Regions from separate parts of the Homo sapiens genome. Here region 1 is linked to region 2. Evidence: promoter capture Hi-C in 16 types of primary human blood cells and fetal thymus (Javierre and others, 2016). All regions are on one chromosome and are shown on one strand. Each heading gives the region's core, a stretch centred on a gene start or on the middle of the fragment in contact. The rest is flanking DNA. Distances are from core to core; before and after follow the strand shown.

Region 1 (4,946 bases), core at 1,775-4,274, 400 kb after region 2:
GTTGTTATTTTTTGGGGTTTTTTTGAGACAGAGTTTCGCTCTTGTTGCCCAGGCTGGAGTGCAATGGCACGATCTCAGCTCACTGCAACCTCCGTCTCCTGGGTTCAAGCAATTCTCTTGCCTCAGCCTCCCAAGTAGCTGGGATTACAGGCACCCACCACCACGCCTGGCTAACTTTTTGTATTTTTAGCAGAGATGAGGTTTCACCATGTTGACCAGGCTGGTCTGAAACTCCTGACCTCAGGTGATCCACCCACCTCAGCCTCCCAAACTGTTGGGATTACAGGTGTGAGCCACCGTGCCTGCCCTTTGTTTAGTTTTTACAGAGACAAGGTCTCACTATGTTGATCAGGCTGGTCTTGAACTCCTGACTTCAAGCAATCTTCTCGCCTCAGCCTCCCAAAGTGCTGGGATCACAGGTGTGACCCACCGTGCCCATCCTGTGGCTCTTGAATAACCACTGAGCATAATGTTTGGCCTACCAGGGGAGCTCATAAAATCTTTGTTAAATGAGTGAGTAAATAAATGAACAAAACACAGTGACTCTTCTCATCTAGTTTCTTTTCCCGAAAGGGCTCTCAAACCCTTCAGAAGATAGGAAACAGAAGAGGCAGGGAACTACCATAATAATGCCTCCTGGCCACAGACTGTTAAAGTGACAGCTGAGTCAACAAGATGCATCCTAGAGGCCCCCCTCCTCCTGCTCAGGAAGAGAGCCACACTGATGAAAGCCCAGGCATTGACCACCAGAGCCTCGCCAGGAGGGCAGGGAGAGTGGGGAGGTAAATAAAGGACAGGAATGAATGTCTACTGACAGGGACTCTGTTTCAGATGCCATGCTAAATGTTTACATGCATCATCTCATTTTATCTTCCCAACAAGCCCAATCTGCAGATGTGAAAACAGGCTATGAAACTTGGCCAAGGATTATAAAACCAATGCAGGGCAAAGCTGAGTTGAACTCAGATTGTCAGCCTTCCTCCAAAGCCTGGGCTTTTCCTGGCTGCCATCTTAGTTTCCAGCCACTCAAACACCTCCCTTATCTTCTTAAGTGAGGGCCTAAAATTTCATCATTAAACTGTCATCCATTCGCCTTTTTCCTTTTTTGAGACAGGGTCTTGCTCTGTCACCCATGCTTAAGTGCAGTGTTGCCATTGTAGCTCACTGTAGCCTTGAACTCCTGGGCTGAAGTGATTTTCCCACCTTCCAAGCAGCTAGGATGACAGGTGTGCACCACCATATCTGAGTAATCTTGCTTTTCATTTTTTACTTTTTTTTTTTTTTTTTTTTTGAGACGGGGTCTTGCTCTGTCACCCAGGCTGGAGTGCAGTGGCATGATCTCGGCTCACTGCAACCTCCGCCTCCTGGGCCCAGGCGATTCTCCTCCCTCAGCCTCCTGAATAGTTGGGGCTACAGACGTGTGCCACCACGCCCGGCTAATTTTTGTATTTTTAGTAGAGACAGGGTTTTGCCATGTTGGCCAGGCTGATCTCAAACTCCTGACCTCAAGTCATCTGTCCACCTCAGCCTCCCAAAGTGCTGGGATTACAGGCATGAGCCACCGTGCCTGGCCCATTGTTTACATTTTTTAATGGAGACAAGATCTCACTGTGTTGCCCGGACTGGTCTTGAACTACTGGCCTCAAGCAATCTTCCCGCCTGGGTCTCCCAAAGCAGCTAATTTTTTGTATTATTATTATTTTTTTTTTTGGTAGAGAGAGAATTTCACCATTTTGCCCAGGCTGGTCTTGAACTCCTGAGCTCAAGCAATCCACGCGCCTCGGCCTCCCAGAGTGCTGGGATTACAGGCGTGAGCCACCATGCCTGGCCCCATTTTAAAAAAATTACAGGCTGGGCACGGTGGCTCACTCCAGTAATCCCACCACTTTGGGAGGCCGAGGCGGGTGGATCATGAGGTCAGGCATTTGAGACCAGCCTGGGCAACATAGTGAAACCTCGTCTCTACTAAAAATACAAAAAATTATCCGGGCATGGTGGTGGGCGCCTGTAATCCCAGCTTCTTGGGAGGCTGAGGCAGGAGAATTGCTTGAACTTGGGAGGCGGATGTTGCAGTGAGCCAAGATCGCAGCATTGCCCCCCAGCCTGGGTGACAGTGCGAGACTCCATCTCAAAAAAAAAAAAAAAAAAATTACAGTGTTCTTCTGTCACTTTTTTTTTTTAAAGTTTAGAAATTTTCATTATAAAAGACTAAACAAAAATACCCTGCCTTAGAATGCAAGTATGTATGCCTGGAAGTATTAGTCCCTGACACCTGTGTATAAGTTAGGTTTGCAGGTTTCCTCTGTGTCAGCAAATACATGAATCGGGGGAGGGTCACGTGGTAATAAACATGGCTTCCTAAGCAGTTGCCTCAGGGGAGCGGGCATAGTAGACAAGTCTTGATAAATTTGCCTTTACAAGCAGGTAAACTGCCTTTATAGGCCAGGCTGATAGCAGTTTACATTCGGACACACCCAGACACTGGGGGCACTGGTCCTACGGGAGCCATCAATAACTGACCTCCAACTCTATCTACCAGCTGGGGCTCTGCCCCCAGTAGTGCTACGCTCTGAGTAAGAATCCCTGCCAGCCAGGGACCCTGCTTCTGCGGAATCTGACCACAGCTTCTCAGAGCCCAGAGTGGATCCAGCCCCAGGAAGGTGGGATACAGAGGGATCTCAGGTGAGAACGACTCAGGTCCCATTCCAGAGCTGGCCATAGAGCAGCGATTGGAGCCCTGTACCCTTCAGGACCCCAGGGCCCCTTCCTCCTCCCTGGGCATGGCAGCCTCTTGACCTTTGCTCATCTGCAGTTTATGCCACTTTGGGCCCTAGAAGCTGCAGAAAGGGAGGCTGGGGCATGGCTCTGGAGTGCCACTCACTGGCTGGCAGTGAGGAGCCAGGAGACTGGCATTCCCAGCACCAAAGTCCTATTGATCTTTGCCCTTGCCCCTCCCTGGGAGCCTTGGCCCTCCTCCTGCCTTCATTTCTTCTCTGCTGGCCTCTCCTGTTCTCTGTCTCCTCACTTCCCTCTGTGGCTCTGCTCAGAACTGGCGGTTTTTCCCAGCTCCTTGCCCAGACCAATACTTCCATGCTGTCTTCAAGCCCTGCTTCCTGCACATCTCCCAGCCCAGATGGGGAGAACCCATGTAAGAAGGTCCACTGGGCTTCTGGGAGGAGAAGGACATCATCCACAGACTCAGAGTCCAAGTCCCACCCGGACTCCTCCAAGATACCCAGGTCCCGGAGACCCAGCCGCCTGACAGTGAAGTATGACCGGGGCCAGCTCCAGCGCTGGCTGGAGATGGAGCAATGGGTGGATGCTCAAGTTCAGGAGCTCTTCCAGGTAGGTAGCACAGCGGATAGTGGGAGGAGATGGGGGCCTGGGGTCCACCCAGGGCACTGAGACCTTCACAGGAGCTGGAGGGCTGATGTGAGGTGCTTCCGTGAAGAGAAAGCTTTTGTAACTGATGAAAGAAAGAAGCATCGGTTTGAAGTCCAGAAGTCTGCCTCCCTCTAGGCTTGTCTGTGCCTCTAATGCTCTTTGTGATCTGGGGAAGGTCTTTTAACATCCCTAATCTATAATAGGGCTGTTAGTGCCTGTCATATCTCCTTTATAGGACTTTCTGAGGCTCAAATGAGACAATAGAAGGGAAAATGCTTGGTCACACTATGTTTCAAAATTTTATATCTTTATTTACTCCCATGTTCAATGCACATACATGTCCGGAGCTACATTTTCGTTTCTTTTCTTTTTCTTTGTTTCTTTCTTTCTTTCTTTCTTTTGTTTTTTGTTTGTTTGTTTGTTTTTGAGACAAAGTCTTGCCCTGTTGCACAGGCTGGAATGCAGTAGTGCAATCTCAGCTCACTGCTCTGCCTGCTGGGTTCAAGCCATCCTCCCACTTCAGCCTCCTGAGTAGCTGGGACTACAGGTGCGCACCACCACGCCTGGCAAATTTTTTTGTATTTTTTTTTGTAGAGACGGCTTTTCACCATGTTGCCCAGGCTGGTCTTGAACTCCTTGGCTCAAACAGTCTGCCTGCCTCGGCCTCTCAAAGTGCTGGGATTACAGGTGTGCACCACCATGCCCAGCCTAGAGCTACATTTTCCAATTCTGTAGCCATCAGCCATGTGTAGCTGTTTGACTTTAAATGAGTTATAATTAAATAAAATTATTCAGTTCCCCAGTCACATGGGCCACATTTCTTTTTTCTTTTGCCTTTTTTTGAGACAGTCTTACTCTGTAAACCAGCCTGGAGTGCAATGCCGTGATTTTGGCTCACTGCAACCTCCGCCTCCCAAGTTCAAGCGATTCTCCTGCCTCAGCCTCCCGAGTAGCTGGGATTACAGGCATGCGCCACTGTGCCCGACTAATTTTGTATTTTTAGTAGAGACGGGGTTTCTCCATGTTGGTCAGGCTGGTCTCGAACTCTCGACCTCAGGTGATCTGCCCACCTCAGCCTCCCAAAGTGCTGGGATTACAGGCGTGAGCCACCGCACCCAGCCAACATGGGCCACATCTCAAGTGTTAAATAGCCCCATGTGGCTAGTGACTACTATGTTGTCAGCACAAATATAGAATATTTTCGTTATTTCAGAATGGACAGTGCGGGACTAGAATGTTAAGAGTAACCAAAGTTGAGTGCCAATACCAGGACCTAAGCAATCTTTGACCCTGGCTCTGACTAACACTCTTCAACCCCACTCTGGGAAAAGGACAGGTCTTGGTCCCTGGTTACTGGAAACGGCACTTTCTTACTTATATACCTTTAAACCTGGATTCTAGAGAGGTAAGAACTGCTGTTCCAGCAATAAGAATAACATTCTGAACACAACTACGTGCTAGGCTCAATGCCAGGCACTGACATGCATTCTTTCATTTAATCCTTCCCACAACTCCATTAAGCAAGTACTGTTTTTCTTTTTTTATAGAGATGAGATCTTGCT
Region 2 (5,172 bases), core at 938-3,437:
GCAAACCAGTCCAGAAAGGGGTGGGGCTAGAAAACATCCCTTCCAACTTGAAAACTCCAGAAAGTTGAACTTGTCACAAAGCAGAGAACAGCACTTAAACAGGCCTGAAAAATTCTGTAGTTCCCCATAGCACTCCTCAGTACTATCTGCATATGGGCCGGAGTGAGTTACTGGTCATGTCATTATCAAAGACAAGTATGATGAAGAGACAGAGCTCAGGTGCTACATCCTTCATTAACTCAATAAGAATCATAAAGGTTTACTGAAAAGATAAAATATTGTATGCATCAATACAATTGTATCATACATTGCATTATCAAGGACTATTCAAAGTTATGATGGTATTTTACAGCGCTTCAGAATCCCGAGTCCTTTTGCTCCTTTGTTCAGACTAATGAGGAAGAGACTGGACTATAAAAAAAAAAATCAGTTCTGCAGGGCACGGTGGCTCACACCTGTAATCCCAGCACTTTGGGAGGCCGAGGTGGGTGGATCACTTGAGGTCAGGAGTTCGAGGCCAGCCGGGCCAACATAGTGAAACCCCATCTCTACCAAAAATACAAAAATTAGCCAAGCGTGGTGGCAGGCACCTGTACTCCCAGCTACCTGGGAGGCTGAGGCAGGAGAACTGCTTGAACCTGGGAGGCGGAAGTTGCAGTGTGCCGAGATCACGCCACTGCACTCCAGCCTGGTTGACAGAGGGAGACTCCGTTTCAAAAAAAAAAAAAAAAAAAATCAGTTCCTAGTACAAATTCACACGGAGATTTTTGGAGCACATCCAATTTCAATAGCGAATAAAAAAGTACACCAGCATAGTAGAAATCAATACATATATGAGATTAGGACAGCAAGTATCGTCGTGTAAGTAAAAAACTGGTGGTCACAGTATCCGTGTTTTTTCTCTAGAAGTTCAGATTGAAAGAAGTCTCACAATCCCAGACCCCTGATTGTTTAAAGGTCTCCAGGCATCGGGTCATGTCTCCCAAAGCCTTACTACACGGTCTTGCTTTCTGGGTGGTTTTCCCAATTTGTGACAAGAACTTGTTTGTAATTTCCCATAGTTGTCAGAGGTTTTAGGTCCTTACCCAGAAACGGATTTTCTACAGAATCCATCTCGAGTTCCTGAATTTGCTTCTCGGGCTTTACCTACTGTTCAGGATGCCTCTTCATAGGGAAGGGTGGTGCGAGGCAACAGAAAGGAAAGGAGTTCGGGGACTTTGATGGGCAGGGTGCAGAAAAGGGGGGCGTCGACGCTCTACGAGTGATCAAGAGTCCCGATTTTGAAGGGAAGGACAGCCCCACAGTAGCTAGAGCCCCGCTCCAGGAAGCTGCAGCTGGAAGAACAGGTCTTCCAGCTCTCGGTCCCCAAACCTGGAGGCTGCCCAGGACCCCCCAACCTCACAGGCACCCGAGCTCCAGACCTTAGCGACAGCCGCCCTTGGTTGTGAGGCCAGCCTGAGGCGCCCGGCGTTCCCACCCCCAACCCGAACTCACAGCCGGTCTCCTTCTTGATCTCCTCGAGCTCTTCGTCCCGCAGTAACGTGGAGGCCCGAGAACCCATCGCCGTGCCGGGAGCTCCTCCGGGAGCAGCGGCGCCAGAAGAGACGGCGACAGGAGGGAAGGAGGGAGGGAAGGAAGGGCTAGGGGTCAAGAAGGGAGAGGGCAGTGTTTCCACTGCGGACCCGGGAGGGAACCCAGGGGTGGTGCGCTGGGGAGGGCGGCCCCGAGGACCCGCCAATCAGGCGCGAGGCAGCGCCCGGCTCAGGAGCCAACGTCAGCGTTCGAGTTCCAGCCCCGAATGAATCAGCCCAGCTCCAGCCCAAGTCCTGCTGAAGACGGACCCCGCCCCCGGAACCGCAGCTGCCACCGGCCTTAAAGGGGCGATGCCACTCGGTCGCTAACGACGCAATTAAAAGGGCAACGTCATTGACCAACAGTTTTACAACAAACTAACCTGCGACAGGCAGCGTAGTCTACCTTTTCTCACAGGAATCGAACACTAGGAATCCTACTCGATAGGTGGCACGGATTGCGGAGAGAAACTTCGCGTGGGGGGGAACCCTAGGGTGTACCCTTCGGGGACTGCACGCGCTCTTCATCTTTCCTGGCTGCCGTCCTCCTCCCGGCCGCAGGGGGCGCTGGGGAGCCGGCCTCGGGGCCGCGTGCTGATTGGCTCCTCGGGAAACAGACGAGACTGGACGTTGGGCCGGGCGGGCGTCGCCTCTGCGGCGTGTGTCCCCGGCGTCGCGGACCTTTCTCCAGGTTTTCAGCCTGTGATTTGATAACCGCCGCCGGGTGGCGTGGAGCGTCCCGAGACTTCTTCCTTCATTGCAGCCCCTCTTCTTTTAGTTCTAGACTGAAGTTCGAGGAACGCACCACTTGGCTGAAATTAGGATCCAGATTTCCCAAACTTCCTTCGGAGGAAAAAGCCCTAACGATGGAGGACAGTGAATTCCTAGCTTATGGTCCGCCATTTATTTGAAGTTCCTTATTTTGTCTTAAAAATGAGAAATTTTGCATTTTATTCTCATGGTGTATTGTTTGTTTTGATTAAAAAGGTAGGCCTGGCACGGTGGCTCACGCCTGTAATCCCAGCACTTTGGGAGGCCGAGGTGGGCAGAACACCTGAGGTCGTGAGTTCGAGACCAGCCTGACCAATATGGAGAAACCCCATCTCTAATAAAAATACAAAATTATCCGGGTGTGGTGCCGCGTGCCTGTAATCCCAGCTACTCGGGAGGCTGAGGCAGGAGAATCGCTTGAACCCGGGAGGCGGAGGTTGCAGTGAGCCGAGATCGCGGCATTGCTCTCCAGCCTGGGTGACAGAGCAAGACTCCGTCTCAAAAAAAAAAAAAAAAAAAGGTAAAAGCCACCCGTTAAATTAGTGCCTACTCTCAGGTGAACCAGTTCTTACTGCTTCACCTGCCTTACCCCTTCACACCTGTTTGGTTAGAACACGTATAAGATAAGGAAGAACCGAATTCTGACTGCTGTTAGTACCCAAGTACCAGGATATTTTTGTCGTAGCAGGCTTTCCCAGGTCAACTTAAGTTACTAGTTTTAAGTGTTACCTAAGGCTTTACAGCTTAGCCTGAGGCCCCACACGTTCCCTGCAAGCTGAGGTTCTAGTTTGAAGAACTAGAGTTTTGTTTGTTTGTTGTTGTTGTTGTTGTTTGAGACGGAGTTTTTGCTCTTCTGCCCAGGCTGAAGTGCAAAGGCGCCATCTCAGCTCACCGAAACTTCCGCCTCCCGGGTTCAAGCGATTCTCCTGCCTCAGACTCCCTAGTAGCTGGGGTTACAGGCATGCGCCACCGTGTCCAGCTAATTTTGTATTTTTAGTAGAGACAGGGCTTCTCCATGTTGGTCAGGCTGGTCTCGAACTCCGTATCTCAGGTGATCTGCCCGCTTCAGCCTCCCAAAGTGCTGTGATTACAGGCGTGAGCCACCGCACCTGGCTTGTTTTGTTTTTTTGCGACAGAGTCCGGGCTGGAGTGCAATGGCCTGATCACTGTGCATTTTCGGCTCACTGCAACCTCCAGGCGGGTTCAAGGGATTATCATGCCTCAGCCTCCTGAGTAGCTGGGATTACAGGCGCGTGCCACCACGCCCAGCTAATTTTTGTATTTTTAGTAGAGACAGGGTTTCACCATATTGTCTAGGCGGGTCTCAAACTCCAGAACTCAGGTGATCCACCCGCCTCGGCCTCCCAAAGTGTTGGGATTACAGGCGTGAGTCCCCGTGCCCGGCCTTAGAGTTATTTTTATGATTGTCGTGCACTTGTCTAACCTAGTGATGTTGTCCTTTGTACTCAGTAACATTTTGGATATGCCCGTCTAAGAGCTAAATCACTGGAGCTGCTTTGTATGTTGGAATATGGCTGTGATAGGAAAATTTTGTCAGCCCCATGAATGTCCCTTTTCTCAGTCAGCCTTGAAGCCCATCTCTTGATGCTGACCTTACTTTTTTCCTTCCTAATCTTGAATCTTAGTGTTTGCAGCTGTCTCCAGTCAAAGCTTTCTTTGCTTCATGTTAGTATTTTTTTCTGACTTTAATTTTTTTTTCTTTAATGTTTCTCTAATTCTCTTATTTTCCAGGTGTTTCACAAACTTTCCTTTCTTGGGTACCTTTTAAAAGTATAAATTGCTTGAACCCGGGAGGCAGAGGTTGCAGTGAGCCAAGATAGCGGTACTGCACTCCAGCCTGGCGACAGAGTGAGACTCCATCTCAAAAATAAAATAAAAATAATGTTTGCCTCTATTAAGGGCTGTTTTCTTTTTCCAGTTTTATGTATTTTTCTTTAAAAATTCTCCTTTTGCCTGTTGGATTAACTTAAAGAATGGTTTTTCTTAGACTCTCTGATGACTTGTTTTATGTTCTGTTTGGATGCATAAGACTTGGTCTTGCACTAAACTACAAACATCCTACCCTAGAGGCCTGGTCTTAGTTCAGATTGCATTACCTTCTAGCTGTGTGACTTTGGGCAGGTGTCTTAACCTTCTAAACTTCAGTTTCTTCATTTGTAAATTAGGTTATGGTTGTTATATCAAGTAATATTTGTATAAGCACTTGATAGACCTTAAAATGTAAAAATATAGGTTATTTATTTGACCGAAAATTGTATGTAACATCTCACCTTCTTCCTAGTTGACTTAGGCTCTAGTTATTTCATCAATGTTTTTATGGTTAAATTGCAAAATTCACTGGTTGAATTTTCCTAGTGTGGCAAAAGTATACAGCTTTTAAATTTAAAAAACTATAGAAGAATACTTATCTAAGTTTCTAAATACAAGGACATCTAAATAACAGAATAGTTCTAAATTAACTTTTAAAAAATTACTGTATTATGGTAAAGAATGTAAGAGTACCGCCTTCTTTTGTTTTGTTTTGTTTTTTGAGACAGAGTTTCACTCTTGTCTCCCAGGCTGGAGTGCAATGGCGCGATCTTGGCTCACTGCAACCTCCACCTCCTGGGTTCAAGTGATTCTCCTGCCTCAGCCTCCTGAGTAGCTAGGATTACAGGTGTGCGTCACTACAGCTGGCTAATTTTTGTGTTTTTAGTAGAGACGGGGTTTCACCATGTTGGTCAGGCTGGTCTCGAACTCCTGACCTCAGGTGATCTGCCTGTCTTGGCCTCCTAAAGTGCTAGGATTACTGGCATAAGCCACTGCACCC

What was found. Contacts are between HindIII fragments. The CHiCAGO score rates a contact against its expected background, and 5 or more counts as called.
Region 1: the fragment with the promoter of PPP1R14D here is called in contact with the fragment with the promoter of EXD1 in region 2 in 6 of 17 cell types (M1 macrophages, endothelial precursors, naive CD8 T cells and 3 more); the score reaches 6.1 in M1 macrophages.

What each region holds. Positions count from the first base shown.
Region 1 is chr15:40,826,786-40,831,731 of GRCh38, reverse strand. PPP1R14D (protein phosphatase 1 regulatory inhibitor subunit 14D) reads left to right here and starts at 3,024. Exons shown (of 4, transcript NM_017726.8): 1 at 3,024-3,345. The coding sequence starts at 3,091. The HindIII fragment of the contact is 4,675 bases long and covers 1-3,459 here.
Region 2 is chr15:41,227,772-41,232,943 of GRCh38, reverse strand. EXD1 (exonuclease 3'-5' domain containing 1) reads left to right here and starts at 2,187. Exons shown (of 12, transcript NM_001286441.2): 1 at 2,187-2,465. It overlaps CHP1 (calcineurin like EF-hand protein 1), which reads right to left and starts at 1,676. Exons shown (of 7, transcript NM_007236.5): 1 at 1,495-1,676. The coding sequence starts at 1,561. RefSeq lists enhancers at 1,833-1,892, 1,913-1,982 and a silencer at 2,103-2,162. The HindIII fragment of the contact is 6,181 bases long and covers 1-4,015 here.